Regions from separate parts of the Homo sapiens genome. Here region 1 is linked to region 2. The links are contacts of gene promoters, found by promoter capture Hi-C in human tissues and cell types (Jung and others, 2019). All regions are on one chromosome and are shown on one strand. The core of a region is centred on a gene start or on the middle of the fragment in contact, and the rest is flanking DNA. Distances in the headings are between cores, read along the strand shown. Region 1 has its middle 57 kb from the start of FBN2. Region 2 holds the start of FBN2 (fibrillin 2).

Region 1 (6,733 bases), core at 54-2,553, 59 kb before region 2:
AAAATATCAAACATTTAGAGAAAAGATAAGACACAATCTGTGAGGCAACACTAATTCCTAAGAACGCAGGATTCGAGTGCTCTCCAGCATTATCCCCAGAATGAACTCTAGTGGGCATTTTGTCCACTTCAAGGGAAACCAAGTATTGGCACACTACACAACATTTCTCCCAGCCAAAGAATTCACTTTACTTTAGAAATAGCCAGTCTTATCATAGGACCCTCATCTAGAGTCAATCATCTTATAAAAGCGTAAAATGTGCTGGGCGCGGCGGCTCATGCCTGTAATCCCAGCACTTTGGGAGGCCGAGGCTGGCAGATCACGAGGTCAGGAGATCGAGACCATCCTGGCTAACACGGTGAAACCCCATCTCTACTAAAAATACAAAAAATTAGCTGGGCATGGTGGCACACACCAGTAGTCCCAGCTATTCGGAAGGCTGAGACAGGAGAATCACTTGAACCCAGGAGGCGGAGGTTGCAGTGAGCTGAGATCATGCCACTGCACTCCAGCCTAGGCGACAGAGTGAGACACGGTCTCAAAAAAAAAAAAAAAAAAAGAAAGAAAGAAAGAAAAAAGGGTAAAATGCACTACTGAAGATGGATTTAAGTCCTAATGTACAATAGATACTTTGAAAATTCAGGGCCTGGTTCTGTAGATGTAGTAATTGTTCTTTAACCAGCAAACAGTAAACAATTCTGTTTTTCCCAAAACCAAATTATATTAGTTGAGGAACAAAGGACTAGAAATATGGTGCTATTCACTTAATTATCTATGGTGCTATATTAAACATGGTGCTATTACCTAATTGCTAATTACATCTTGCAAAATTTTGCATTCCATCCCATCAGCTCCAGGCTCTGCTGGCATGGGGATCATAGAAAAGAGGAATGTTTTCAGCATTTGATGGAGCTTAGACTTCTATTGGACTATTTTACACTCTTCATGTTGAAGACAGGGGGAAAATGGTGTTTTAGCGTAGTTTGATTGATTCTAATTCTCAAGGAAAAACTGGATTGCTGTTATACAATGGGGGCAGGGAGGAGAATAAACAGAACACCTTCTCATATTACCATGCCCAGTGTTAAAAGTTAATCAAAGACTCTGGCAATCTATTCAGGCAGAACCACCAAAAGCTTAGATCCCTCCGGAAGAAGGTTTGAGTGATCCCACTGGGTAAAGAATCCCAGCCAGCTGAGGTGCTAGCAGAGGGCAAAGCAAACAGAAATGCTTGGTGGAGGAATAAAGTCATAAATACCAGTGACAGTCTCATGGTCACTTGCAGAAACAAAGACTAAAGCCTCTACCCAATTTTTCTTTCTTGTTGAATCATGGTTATATTTGCGCATTTTAATTAAATTCCCTTTTCTTGAGGAGGTAGGTGGTAGTAATCAACCATATAATGCGTGCTTTCAGTAGCCAAATTCTGAAGTGGGATTATGCGGAACCAAAGAAGTGGACATCCCCCAGAGATTCTGGATTTGGAGTCTGGCTCACTTCAGATTTTCTTACTTGGGGGAGGGAAAGAGTGTATTGTAAGTTATACGAAGGATCATTATATTATGTTAGATAAGGACTTTTTTAATGTAAATATGTGTAGAAGGACAAATATAGTCAGCCAAAAGGGTAAACTGTAGTGAATATTCCTTATTTGTTGGCTGCACAAACCTCTTCCTTTTGGGGAGAAATCTCCCACTGTGTGAGCCCTGGAGAGAGACACAGCCCACCTTTGCACACAAAGGCCAAAGGAAGACAAGTGTGTCCTCTCCATATCCCATGAACAGGTGCCTCGCCCCCGCCATCTGGTTCTTTTTCTCAGCTTTTGTACCTTCATCAAGTGATGCAAGGATAAAGGGACAGTTTATGCTACTGTGCTCAGCATCAGGGGTGGGTAGAGATAGTGGGCGGTTGTGGCTTTACCATCCTGGCACTGTCACCTGAGGAGGTAGGGCCAGCAGCAGTGTCTGAACCAGAGCATTTGAGGCAAGATTTTGCCTGTGTTCCCACTTCCTGACTTCCTCTTGTTTCTTACTTATATCCTTCTCTTTAAATTAAGCAAAATTGTTTTCCCTTGCTAATTAGGCAAAATTGTTTTCCTTTGCTTACAGCAAAGAGCCAAGTGAGACAAATCTATTTTCACTACTTTAGAAGAAAGTCAACCACTTTGGTGGGGCTAGCCCATCTGAAAGTAGGAAAAGAATACGTGGCTTTGTTAAAAAGCCTGTTTTGGCCTGCAGCCAGGAATGAAATATGTCAGACTCTGCCCAAGCTACCATAAGTGAACTAAAGGGAGGGGAAAAAAACATTGCAGGATTTACAACTGAGACCCGGAAAAGCCTGACCCCAAGCCTGCCAAGCACCATCTCTAGCGCACACTCTGTTTGATAATAGCGTCAACTACCTAAGCACAAGCTTTGTAAACAAAATAGGTTCATGGATCCCAAATAATCTTTTCTGCCATCGATGTCCTAAAACAAATAGATTCATTCAGTAGATGGTGCAGGGAGGTGGCCACCAATGGAATCCCCAAATTAAGCATGACTGATTAAACTGTTGATTAATTTTTGAAAATAGCACAGAAATGAGCATTACATTTAGCAAGACAATGGAGAAAAAAAATCATCAGTGTACACTGTTGTGAGTCAAGACTCAAACTCAAAACTTTACAAACTTACACATAAATATCTTTTCTTTAGAACTCACTAACTATCCATAAAAGTGGGTTTTGATACAGGGTGTACTAACTCCTCTTTATTTAGTCACTTAAAAAATATTCCCTTTCCTTTTACAATACCCATATGAAGTTTTGTCTTTTCCTCTTCCAACTTTCCATGTTCCAAATGGACTAGTGCCAAGCATGAAAGGAGAATTTCTCCTATGGAGTCAAAGGCTTCTATAGAGGTTGATAATTCAAGTTTCCTGTTAATCTAAACCCAGCACCAGAAATAAGCTTTGCTCATGGCCAGCTATCCCCTCTGAGCCAGGTTCAACTGAATTCCTTTGAAGGTGCAGTGCTTAAAGCACAGCAGCGTGCACCCAAATGTAATCTCTGTCTCAGAGGTTCCTCCTGAGCCCTGCCTTCTCCTATATGTTCTCTCTCAGTAAGAGGAAGTACGATCAGCCAATTTCTCCAAGCCAGATATACAGAATTGACCTGGATTCCTACCTTCCTGCTCCTTGCCAATCCTCTCAAAAGTTGTGCATTACTCTCCATTCCCTTGGGCAAATCGCCATCGGAAGGATTGGAGCAGTAGCCTCTCAAACCCTCTTGAAGCTTGAGCCCCTCTCCCCTCTTAGACCTGACAGATTCTGCACTGTATACCAAAACGACTTTTTAAAAACAAATCATTCTTCTGCTTAAAATTATTCAGTTGCTACCCGCTGCCTTAGGAAGAAGTCCATATACCTTAACACACCTGCAACGCCATGCAGAATTCCATCCTGTCCTGCTAATACAATCTAATTTTTGGCGATTCTTGCCTGGAGGTTCCACTTGTATTTCCCCAAAATGTTCACATTTTCTTGTGCCTGAGGCTTTGTCATAGGGAGAGGAGAGACTTTGTTTAAAGGTCTTTCTCTCCATCTGCTTATTATCCAGATTAAATCTGCACCTCCTTCCAACATTATCTCAGATGTTGCCTCCACCAGAACCTTTCTGACTGCCCAACATTAGCACTGTGTATGCAGCTCCATAAAAGCTCTATGTTGTATTTTCTTTTTTGTAGGTGTCCTCAATGCAGTTGACTGTGTGCTCTTCAGTGTCAGGTTAGTTAGTGCTCAGTAAGCAATAAATAGCTGCTGAATGAATGAATGATTTATAAACTTGGATGCTTTTTTATTATGATTTTTCCCTCTCAGTAAGTAGACATACTCTGTAGGCAATAAGAACTTCCTTGGTTTGTTTTTTAATGAGTCTCATTCCTGGTCTCTTGGCTTTCAAGTTTCATGTATGTACTAAAGCAATGTCTTAAATTTGCTTTTATATAGGCCAGAATTAGCCAAGCAAAGTGAAAAGGAAAAATTATTGTTGAATATAGAAAATAGGACTATTACATTTTGAAATTGCACTTTATCATCTGATACTAGAGAAACAATAATCTGGCCGGGCGCAGTGGCTCATACCTATAATCCTAGCACTTTGGGAGGCTGAGGCAGGTGGATCTCCTAAGGTCAGGAGTTCGAGACCAGCCTGGTCAACATGGTGAAACCCCATCTCTACCAAAAAATTAGGCCGGGCACGGTGGCTCACGCCTGTAATCCCAGCACTTTGGGAGGCCAAGGCAGGGGGATCTCCTAAGGTCAGGAGTTTGGGACGAGCCTGACCAATAGAGAAACTCCATCTCTACTAAAAATACAAAATTAGCTGGGCATGGTGGTGCCTGCCTGTAATCCTAGCTACTCAGGGGGCTGAGGCAGGAGAATTGCTCGAACCTGGGAAGCGGTGGTTGCGGTGAGCTCAGATCGCACCACTGCACTCCAGCCTGGGCAACAAGAGTGAAACTCTGTCTCAAAAAAAAAAAAAAAAAAAAAAAAAATTAGCTGGGCTTGTCCCAGCTACTCAGGAGGCTGAGGCAGAAGAATCGCTTGAATCCGGGAGGCGGAGGTTACAGTGAGCCAAGATGGTACTGTTGCACTTCCAGCCTGGGCAACAAGAGCAAAACTCTGTCTCAAAAAAAGAAAAAAGAAAAAAAAAAGAAGAAACAATAATCAACCACTTTTGAAAAGAATGAACCTTGCTCAGATCATGAGAGTTATGACATCCTGCCAAGCCCAGAGGTTATGTGTAGTAGGCTTTATACACAAACATTTAACTTTTCTGCAGGAAAATACCTTATTTTCTCTTGCTTTTATAGAAATCATAAAAGTCACATTTGTAAGCCCCTAACAGACTGGACACTTCAACCTTGCATTTTAATCCTATATACATATATATATATATTTTTTCCAGCGGAGGGCTATAGTCATATACTACCTTAAAGAGACACACACATTTGAACTAAAAATACAAAGACCTCCAAACCTGTTTTCTCTGATAATTCTTCTGCATCTTAGGTAGAAATAAAAAATTGTGGTGACTGTTATGTGTTTTCTCTGAGGTCTGGTTAGGAAAATTATTGTGCAACTGAAGAACATCAAACATTTGTGAATGCATCAACAAATTCCATTTTATAAGATGGTTACTTTTACTGACACTCTGATAACATTTCTTAGAATCAAGTATATTCATCTATATATCAAATGAGAAACTATATTTTAGAAGTGTCAACTATTCTGTATGCTTTAGCTTGACTGACGTGGAAGGGAAAGAATAATATTCATGCTAAATAAATTTACACTTAACATATATGTGATGGAAGTTAAAAGACACAATAAGATTTGGAATTCTGGACTCATTTATTAAAGAGATGTCATAAGAAGTGTTTGGAGTTCTTTCTTGGAATTGTTATAGAAATACTATAGCAACAGGAATTCTACTAATGTATATATTTGTATAACAACATAGTTTTCTCTTTTCCACATTTTGGAAACTATAAGGAAGGAAGTGAAAACTTCAAGTGTCTGGAATATTGTATATCCATATGCCTCTACTAAGTCTTACATTTTACTTTTATAAAATTTTAAACAAGATGTGTTCTTAGGAAAATCATACAATTTTTTTTTGCATTTTAACAAAAAAATATTGATGAAAGTTAGGAAATTATAAATAAAAACATTTCAATCACAATATTGCGAAGGCCTTTTTTATGGTCAAGTCTTACAGTTAGAACTTTACATTTTGAAAAAAGGTGTTTTAAAACTCCATTCATCTTTCCCTGAGTGTTAATATGAAGTAAGAGCAGATCCTGAAAAGAAGTTTCCTAAAGTATTTTTATTATTTATATTTCATTTGAGACTAAAAGGAAAGTGATATTCCCCATGAGCCAATGAGCAATGGTCAAAGTGTTCAATGGTAAATGAGAAATCCATTAGTTGTTAATATTGGGGTTCCCGAATTCTAATTTTTGCCTTATCTCTCTGTTATGATCTTATTATTCAATCCTGGTAAGGGGTTTTGATTGAAAAAGACTGTTATGAAATCGTCAAGACGTAGTAAGCAGGAAGTGAAGATATGCTATGATTTCCTTTGTGCCCTACATTGTAATTCCTTTATTATAATACCAGATTGGTATCGAATGTGAGAGTGCAGTTGCATCTGATGTTTATGCATTTTGATACCATCAGTGCATTAAAAGACACTGTGGTTTGCCCCATCTGGGGGAAGTTAAAAATTCACACAGAAGTTTCATATTACACATCTTAGGTTGATCACTCTTAGGGGACTCAGTGAGTGCTGAAGTTTTTATAAAAGATCTGAGATCCCTGGAGTTTAGTATAAAACTAGTTTTCAAAGAATACTGCCACATTTGGCCTATTGAACAAAACACTGTTAAAAACAATGACAATCATTCAGATTTAATTGTTCTGGCTATCTTAACTGGAAAACAAATAATAGTTAATTCTCAGTTTCAGGTATTGTCTCAACAAATAAATGACAGTTGTTAATCTTGTGTGAAGTACTCTGAAATAATATCATATGACAGTTTTCAATGCCCACACAGAGTGACAAAATTATCAGGCCAAAGATAAGATACAAAGTCTTTATAGTGTTTGTTTTACAACAGTGTAAAACTGGTGTTTTATAGGTTGGTGCAAAAGTAATTGCGGTTTGGGCATTAAAGGTAATGGCCAAACC
Region 2 (6,864 bases), core at 92-2,591:
TGTTTTCAGGAGTGTTTGATTTTTAAATTGTGATATTCCACTAAATGAGAAATGACCAGGACTTCACAGAGATTTCATGAAAGGAGGGCCACAAAGGAAGAACCCAGAGCAGGCCGGTGAGAGGCACTCTAAGAGGTACAGAGGGTTGCACCAATTGCTAGGATTTAATCAATCAGAAGGGGTCCAAGCCAGGAAGCAAGGGCATGCCCCGAGCCTCATTTACCCGCCTTGTCACCACCCTGCCCGCTAGTACATTTCAGAGTCTCTAACCCCTCCCTGCATGCAAGCCCAGGCAGAGTCCTGCCAGGTTTCACACCAGAGCACACCCCTGCACGGACTCCCCAGGACCGCGGCGCCGGCTGGCTGCCTCGGCCCCCCGCGGCCGCGTGAGCTCCCTCTTGGTGGTGGAGGGCGCATTTCAATCTGGAAACTCCCAGCCCCTAATTTGGTCCCGCAGACTGACGCCGCTCCCGGTGGGGCGGTGGGGGTAGGAGGGCAAAGGGGAGGTCTCCTCCTTCTTGGATTGAGGCTGCAACCAACAGCCCCGTGAGCCTCTATTCCTGGCTGACTGCGAATCCCCCCATCCCAGGTCAGGGGCCGGGACCCTACAGAAAGACCCGTTCTCATCCTCAACCTTGCGGCCTCTGTCCGGCGGGGAAGTTCAGCTGCGGGTCAGTTCAGCTGCGGGTCCGGCCAAGCCTGGCGCGCTTAGGCACCCTAGTCCCTGGTCCGCGGCCGGGCGAGGACGGAGGGGGAGGGGAAGGGGCTGCTGCCTCCTTTCCCAAATCCGGTCCCTAATCGCCCCATCCCCCGCCGTCTACTCGCTTTGTACAGGCAGTCAAAACAGAGCTAGCGGCCAATTGACGGGGACGGGAAGCAAAGCCGCCTAGCGCCTCGCCCCCTCCAGCCGGCCCCCCGGGCCCCTCCTCTCGGCGCCCGGACCTTGGCCCTCCCTCTCCTTTCCCACTTCTCTCTTTGCCCTAACTTCGCCCCCATCCCCCGCTCATTTCCTCTCGCACCCGGGCTCGCCAATCCCTCTTTCCAAGTCCCTCTTCCAGCCCGGCCTTCCTCTCGGGTTCGCCCCCCTTCTCCCCAATCTCCGTCCTCTTCCCTCCCTTCGCCCTCCCCCCCTTCCTTCCTCTTCCCCTCACCCAACCCTGGTTCCCCTCGTTCCTCAGTCCCGATCTCTCCCTTACTCTGTCCCCGCCCACTCTGCGCCGGCCTCTCAGTCCGGGTTGAGCCCCACGTGTGGACGGCCGCGCCCCCACTGACAGCCGCCGCCCGCCGGCCCGCCCCGCGCCCCGCCGGGCCTCTAAAACCCCCGCGCCGCGCCCTCCACCGCCGCATCTTCTCCAGCGCCCAGCCTCCCGCCCTCTCTCTTGCTGGCCGCACGCCCCGGCCCCGCGCACCTCCGCCCGGCTCCGCAGCCGCTACCCGCGCTTCGTTGCCCTGTGGGACTCCGAGCGAGCCCGGAGGGAACCCTCCTCTTCTTCTGGGGGCGACTTTTGTTTGCTTGCCTGTTTCTTTCTGGTGACTTTTGCAGCTTTCCAATATCCGTCTTCGGAGCGCACGGGAATCCGCCGAGCTCTGCGTGCAGGCCCTTTTTTCTTTTGAGGTTCACATTTTTTGAAATTTTACGCCAGGGCTTTTGTAATTTCCTCCCCCGCCCGCTGACGGTCCTGGAGTCGCTCGGGGCTTTAGGCCGGTTATGCAACGTGTACCGCTCGGGGCTGCCGGCTGCACCTCCGCCGCGCCTCGCCGCTCACTGCGCTAGACCCGGCGCCCCGCGTCTCGCTTCGCGGGCAGTCAGGGGGCCGGCGCTCTGTCGAGGTCTCCAGCTAGAGCAGGGAGCCCGAGCCCGAGGGAGTCCCCGGAGCCGACGAAGGGCTTATTAGACCCTGACTCTTTTCTGAGGCGCGCAGATTTTGTCTTTGATCACTCCCTCTCCGCGGGTCTACGGCCGCGCGCTTTCGGCGCCGGCGATGGGGAGAAGACGGAGGCTGTGTCTCCAGCTCTACTTCCTGTGGCTGGGCTGTGTGGTGCTCTGGGCGCAGGGCACGGCCGGCCAGCCTCAGCCTCCTCCGCCCAAGCCGCCCCGGCCCCAGCCGCCGCCGCAACAGGTTCGGTCCGCTACAGCAGGCTCTGAAGGCGGGTTTCTAGCGCCCGAGTATCGCGAGGAGGGTGCCGCAGTGGCCAGCCGCGTCCGCCGGCGAGGACAGCAGGACGTGCTCCGAGGGTAAGTGGGCAAGCGGCTCCGCACCTAGGGCTCCGGCTTGGGGGAGGGGGGAATCCTCAGTTTGGCGGCTTTCTGGCCCACTCCGTCCCAGACCCTTTAGCTGGAGCCTAGAGCTGCAGCCCCCTTTGCCAGAATATCCAAAGACCCCCAGGAGCGCGTCCCCCTTTTCCTTCCCAACCCCGCAGCTCAGCGGGCGGAAAGCCCTCTCTCCGGGGGTTGGGCGGCGGGTGGTTAGGGGGTCCAGGGGTGCCGATCGCAGAGCGTGTGCAGAGCTCGCGCTGCGGGAACAGGTTCTGAATGTCCGGCGGCAGGCGGGCCTGGGTCCGCCTGCTGCAGGGGCCAGAGAAGCCTGCTTGCTCCCCACGTCGGGGCCGCCGCTCGTGAGCCTTTTGTTTGAGGACGTGTGCAGGGTTCACAGCTCACCTTCTCATCGTCAACCCGAGCGCTCCACCTTGCGACGCGCTTTCCTTGACACGTCGGGGCCAAAGTAACAGTTGACCAAGGAGGAATGGATTTGGGAAGGAGGGCAAGGATTCTTTGGAACGGAATGGTCCCTTTGTTCTCTGCATCTGGAAGCTAGAATAGTAGCAAATTATATGTTTCCATGCCTCTTTTCGCCCTTTAAAAAGGCAGGCAAGGGACGACAGATGAAAGGCAGTGTTTAGACATTTCTGACCCTCCTGCATTCCAGCATCTAGCTCTTTTGCTTCCACGTCTGCCTCCCGATCTCCAATAATTTGAAGTGTAATTTTGATTTGTTTGTTGTCCTGAAATCTACTCGCTCGGGGCATTGCTTACGAAGACCGTTTATATGTTGCTGCATCCCTCTACCTATCTGTTACGTGACCGCGCTTGTCCATCACAGGCCCAACGTGTGCGGCTCCAGATTCCACTCCTACTGCTGCCCTGGATGGAAGACGCTCCCTGGAGGAAACCAGTGCATTGTCCGTGAGTGCTTGGCAGGGATCGCAGCTTGGGGCAGCGCACTCGGCCCTATCTCCGGCCGACCTCTTGCACTCAGCCATTTGGACGCATAGTTGCGTTTAAAATCAAGTGATCACATTGCACTGATAATCGGGACGCGGCCCCATTTGAATAGTGGGGAAGACTCAACCGGTTTGAGTCAGTTCAGACTTCACTTCTAGACTCTGTTGAAGGGCAATAATGATAAAGATTTCAAAGATAATTGAAAGTTTTATCTTTCTATGTCTATTAATACAAATTGGAAGAGGGGAGGAGTAGAGCAATTATCTAGATAACTCAAAACCACTTTTTCTGTAAAAAATCCAGATGAGACCACATGTTATTATGCAAATTATCAGGCTTTTAACTCTGCTTGAGGTTTGGGCCTTATGAAGATCAAGATTTCTTAGGCATTTATATAAAACCACTTTCTTATTTCTGGTTTTATATCAACAACCACATAACCTAGATACGAAAGGAGCATTCTCGCGGATTTAGTGTTGACCTAAGTTAACAAACTTTTAAAAGACAGAACTCTTACAAAGGGGCTTGAGTTTTTTTTTTTTTTTGCTTTTTGGAAGACGTTTAAATTTAGGGTTTCCAGACCCTGAACCTCAATAGTGTGCAGTAGATTTCCAAAGTATGAATCTTAGACCTTGAAAAATTCTGTATCTCTGACCTTAAAAGTTTTGATTATTTTATTCTGTTTCCAAAGTGTATAACCAGTTCTCCAAGTTCTAATTGGAGAGCTCATTAGTTATCAGCCTCACAGTCACGGACTCTGGGATGTCTTATTTCATATGCCTGTAAATTTGTGACTTGCAGTGTGACTGGCCTTCTCCTGTGTGTTTATGTAGCACAACCACATTTGTCTTGTTGGAAGGAGAGCCAGGTATCATAGACAGCACATTCATTTAGAGCCAGTCTTGACTTTAGATTGACCTCCATGTTCTCCAGGGAGAAAATAATTATGCAACTGTGAACAGAGAAAAAGGGCAAGGCACACTAACCAAGGGATAATAAGGATGTAGTGGCATTTCTAACTCTGTATTTATTGGTTTTGTGGTTTTGAGATAGATGCTTAATGTTATTTCTGGGCAGTTTTTAAAAAAGAGATGAAATCTCCAGTGTCATAAAGACTAATTTCTTCTTATTTTTTCTACCTTAACATCCCACTATTTCCAATGGCAAAAATAGGAAACAACTGTGTTATTTAAAGTGACTTATAAATATTTTGAACAAATCCTCTGATTATAATAAGCCTTTGCTTTATTTTTTAAAAGAACATGTTCTGCATTCTTTTCTCTCCAACACAGAAGTCATATGTGAGGCATTAATGGAGGGTGGGTTTACTCTTTCAGGCCAGTAGGGCATTACCATGGCTGCTTTAAACTTACACGGTTTTTTAGACTCCTGAAACAGCTAACGTCACTCATCACACACCTGCCATACTAGCTGGGAGTGACTTAGGCACGGCGGAAAGTCTGACTCACTAAATGTAATGAATGTGACTGCCATTATTGAGTTGGAGAGCAGCCGAGGAGGAGGGATTGGTTCATGGTACGTGTTGAAAATCTGTAAAGTCAGATTTTATTGGATCAGTGTGGAATGGGAATTCCAGAGAGCAGAGCCTTCCAGAATATTTGCAGTAGAAATATATGTATGGCCCCACTGATCACTGGTAGAAAATCAGCTTTGAAAATCTCAGGGTAACAGTGACTATTGTAATCTGCATTTCTGAGACTTGAAATATTTGGATGGTTATGAGCTACATTGGAATTTACACGTATCAGAAATCTATGAGAGTAAACTTTGAAATGATCTTTATATCTGTAAGAAACATTTATAACACTTGTGTCAAGACGTATCTACAAAAATATTTATTAGAAACACATCTAAAAATTCTAAGTACCTAAGATTATTAAACAGTGCACAAAATAGGGACAGTGTAATACCTTTATATTCTATTGCATGAGTCTCATTTAATGCTAATAGCCTGCATTCAATTCAGTAGTTCAATTAGTCTGACATTTAAAATGATCATATGTAGAGGTAATAAGTGAAATGAAACCGTTATAAACTCAAAATCAAGAATTTTAATTCCAGGCCTTCCTGATGATAATGAATTAAGTAAATTATTATATTTATTGGATTTATCTGTATCACACCATTTAGCAAAAGAAAGTATCTGAGACCATTTACAAAAAAGAAAATAAATAAAATACAAATAAATAAAAACCAAATATTAATTTTCTCATACATTTGTACCTCAGCATTCTTTTAATATAGAAAAATAAAAAATGGTCAACAGAATTTTAGTGTTTGACAGGCTTTATAAGGAGAAGATATTAAAAAGAAACTGTAATTCTCCAAGTTCTGGAAACCTAATGCATTTTGATTTGAGTCTCTATGTTTTGTTGGTATTGTGCTTAGTTGTAGCCTAGAAAAATTACTGAAGTACTTCCAAACTTCCAAATATTCATTTCCAAAAGTACGGAATTGACTTTCTCACCTTTTTTTTTTTAATCTTCTTAGAACATGAAGCAATGAAACAATTTGCTTATTAATTTATTTATTGTGAAATTATGCTATGAACAGTATTTTGATCAATATAATAAGAGTGGGATGAGGTTGGCTGGACTAAATAACATTTGAGACCTGAGGAAACATCAGAGCATTCCGGTATAATTCCTTTATGTTATGCTACCAAATGAAAACACTGAACCCAGAAAGGCTGTGGGTTTTTCTGGAGCTCATAGCAGATCAATGGCAGAGTGACAACTAAACTTCAGACCTTTTGGGTACTATGTATTCTTTACCTGGCCATGTGACTTCTCACAGCATCACTGAAGTCTCAGCCCCTAGGTCCTGTCTCCCTCTCCCTCTGGTATTTCTAGGTCTCATAGTTTTAGTAATTGTGGGAGGGACGTATTCAGTAAGTGTACCATAGTCTGAGGCTGTTGTGGGGCAAAAGGGCCTCAGCATTCTTGCTTCTCATTGGCTCACAGATACAGAGTATATACCTGTATCCACGACAGGTAAATGCCTGAGAATGCTCAGTCTCCAGCCCATCAAACCTTCATTTGGTTTGGAACCCGGGTGGAGGTACTTTGGGTCTCCTCTCTTAAGCCTAGACTAAATATTGGCCTTCTGGGGAGGAGGAAACTTTGAAATAAAACAATGTTTTAATGCACATTTGTCATTGGAGAGTTACTGGTGATCAGAAACTGTAGTACATTTTAAGAAGTAAGAGTCAACTCCATGGCAGGAAACATATTCTTGCCTAAAATATTTTTATCTTAACATCACAGTATTTGACACTATTCACTTTTTCTTTTTTTATTAATTTGAGACAGGATCTGGCTGTCATCCAGACTGGAATGCAGTGGCATGATCACAGCTCACTGCAGCCTTGACCTCTCGGGCTCAAGCTGCATTCTGACCTCAGCCTCCTGAGTAGCTGGGACTATGGGCACATGCCAATGTGCAAGGCTAATTTTTAAAAAAATTTTCGTAGCGTTGGGGTCTGCCCAGGCTGATCTCCAACTTCTAGGCTCAAGTGATCCATTTGCCTAAGGCTCCCAAGGTGCTGGGATTACAGACATGAGCCACCATACCCAGCCCACTGTTTTCATTTATAAGAAGTACTAATGCTAGTAGTAATA

Evidence for each region. The method cuts DNA at HindIII sites, captures the fragments that hold promoters and counts their contacts. A contact is called where the count stands out against the background at its distance.
Region 1: a contact is called between a fragment that was not itself captured here and the fragment with the promoter of FBN2 in region 2, in 3 of the 25 tissues and cell types used here (H1 embryonic stem cells, mesendoderm cells and spleen).

Annotation. Positions count from the first base shown.
Region 1 is chr5:128,591,775-128,598,507 of GRCh38, reverse strand. No RefSeq gene overlaps it. Among named protein-coding and RNA genes, the nearest start is that of FBN2, 57 kb to the right of the region's middle. The HindIII fragment of the contact is 3,618 bases long and covers 1-3,112 here.
Region 2 is chr5:128,532,722-128,539,585 of GRCh38, reverse strand. FBN2 (fibrillin 2) reads left to right here and starts at 1,341. Exons shown (of 65, transcript NM_001999.4): 1 at 1,341-2,236; 2 at 3,102-3,184. The coding sequence starts at 1,983. RefSeq lists enhancers at 515-1,015, 2,741-3,671. The HindIII fragment of the contact is 18,659 bases long and covers 1-6,864 here.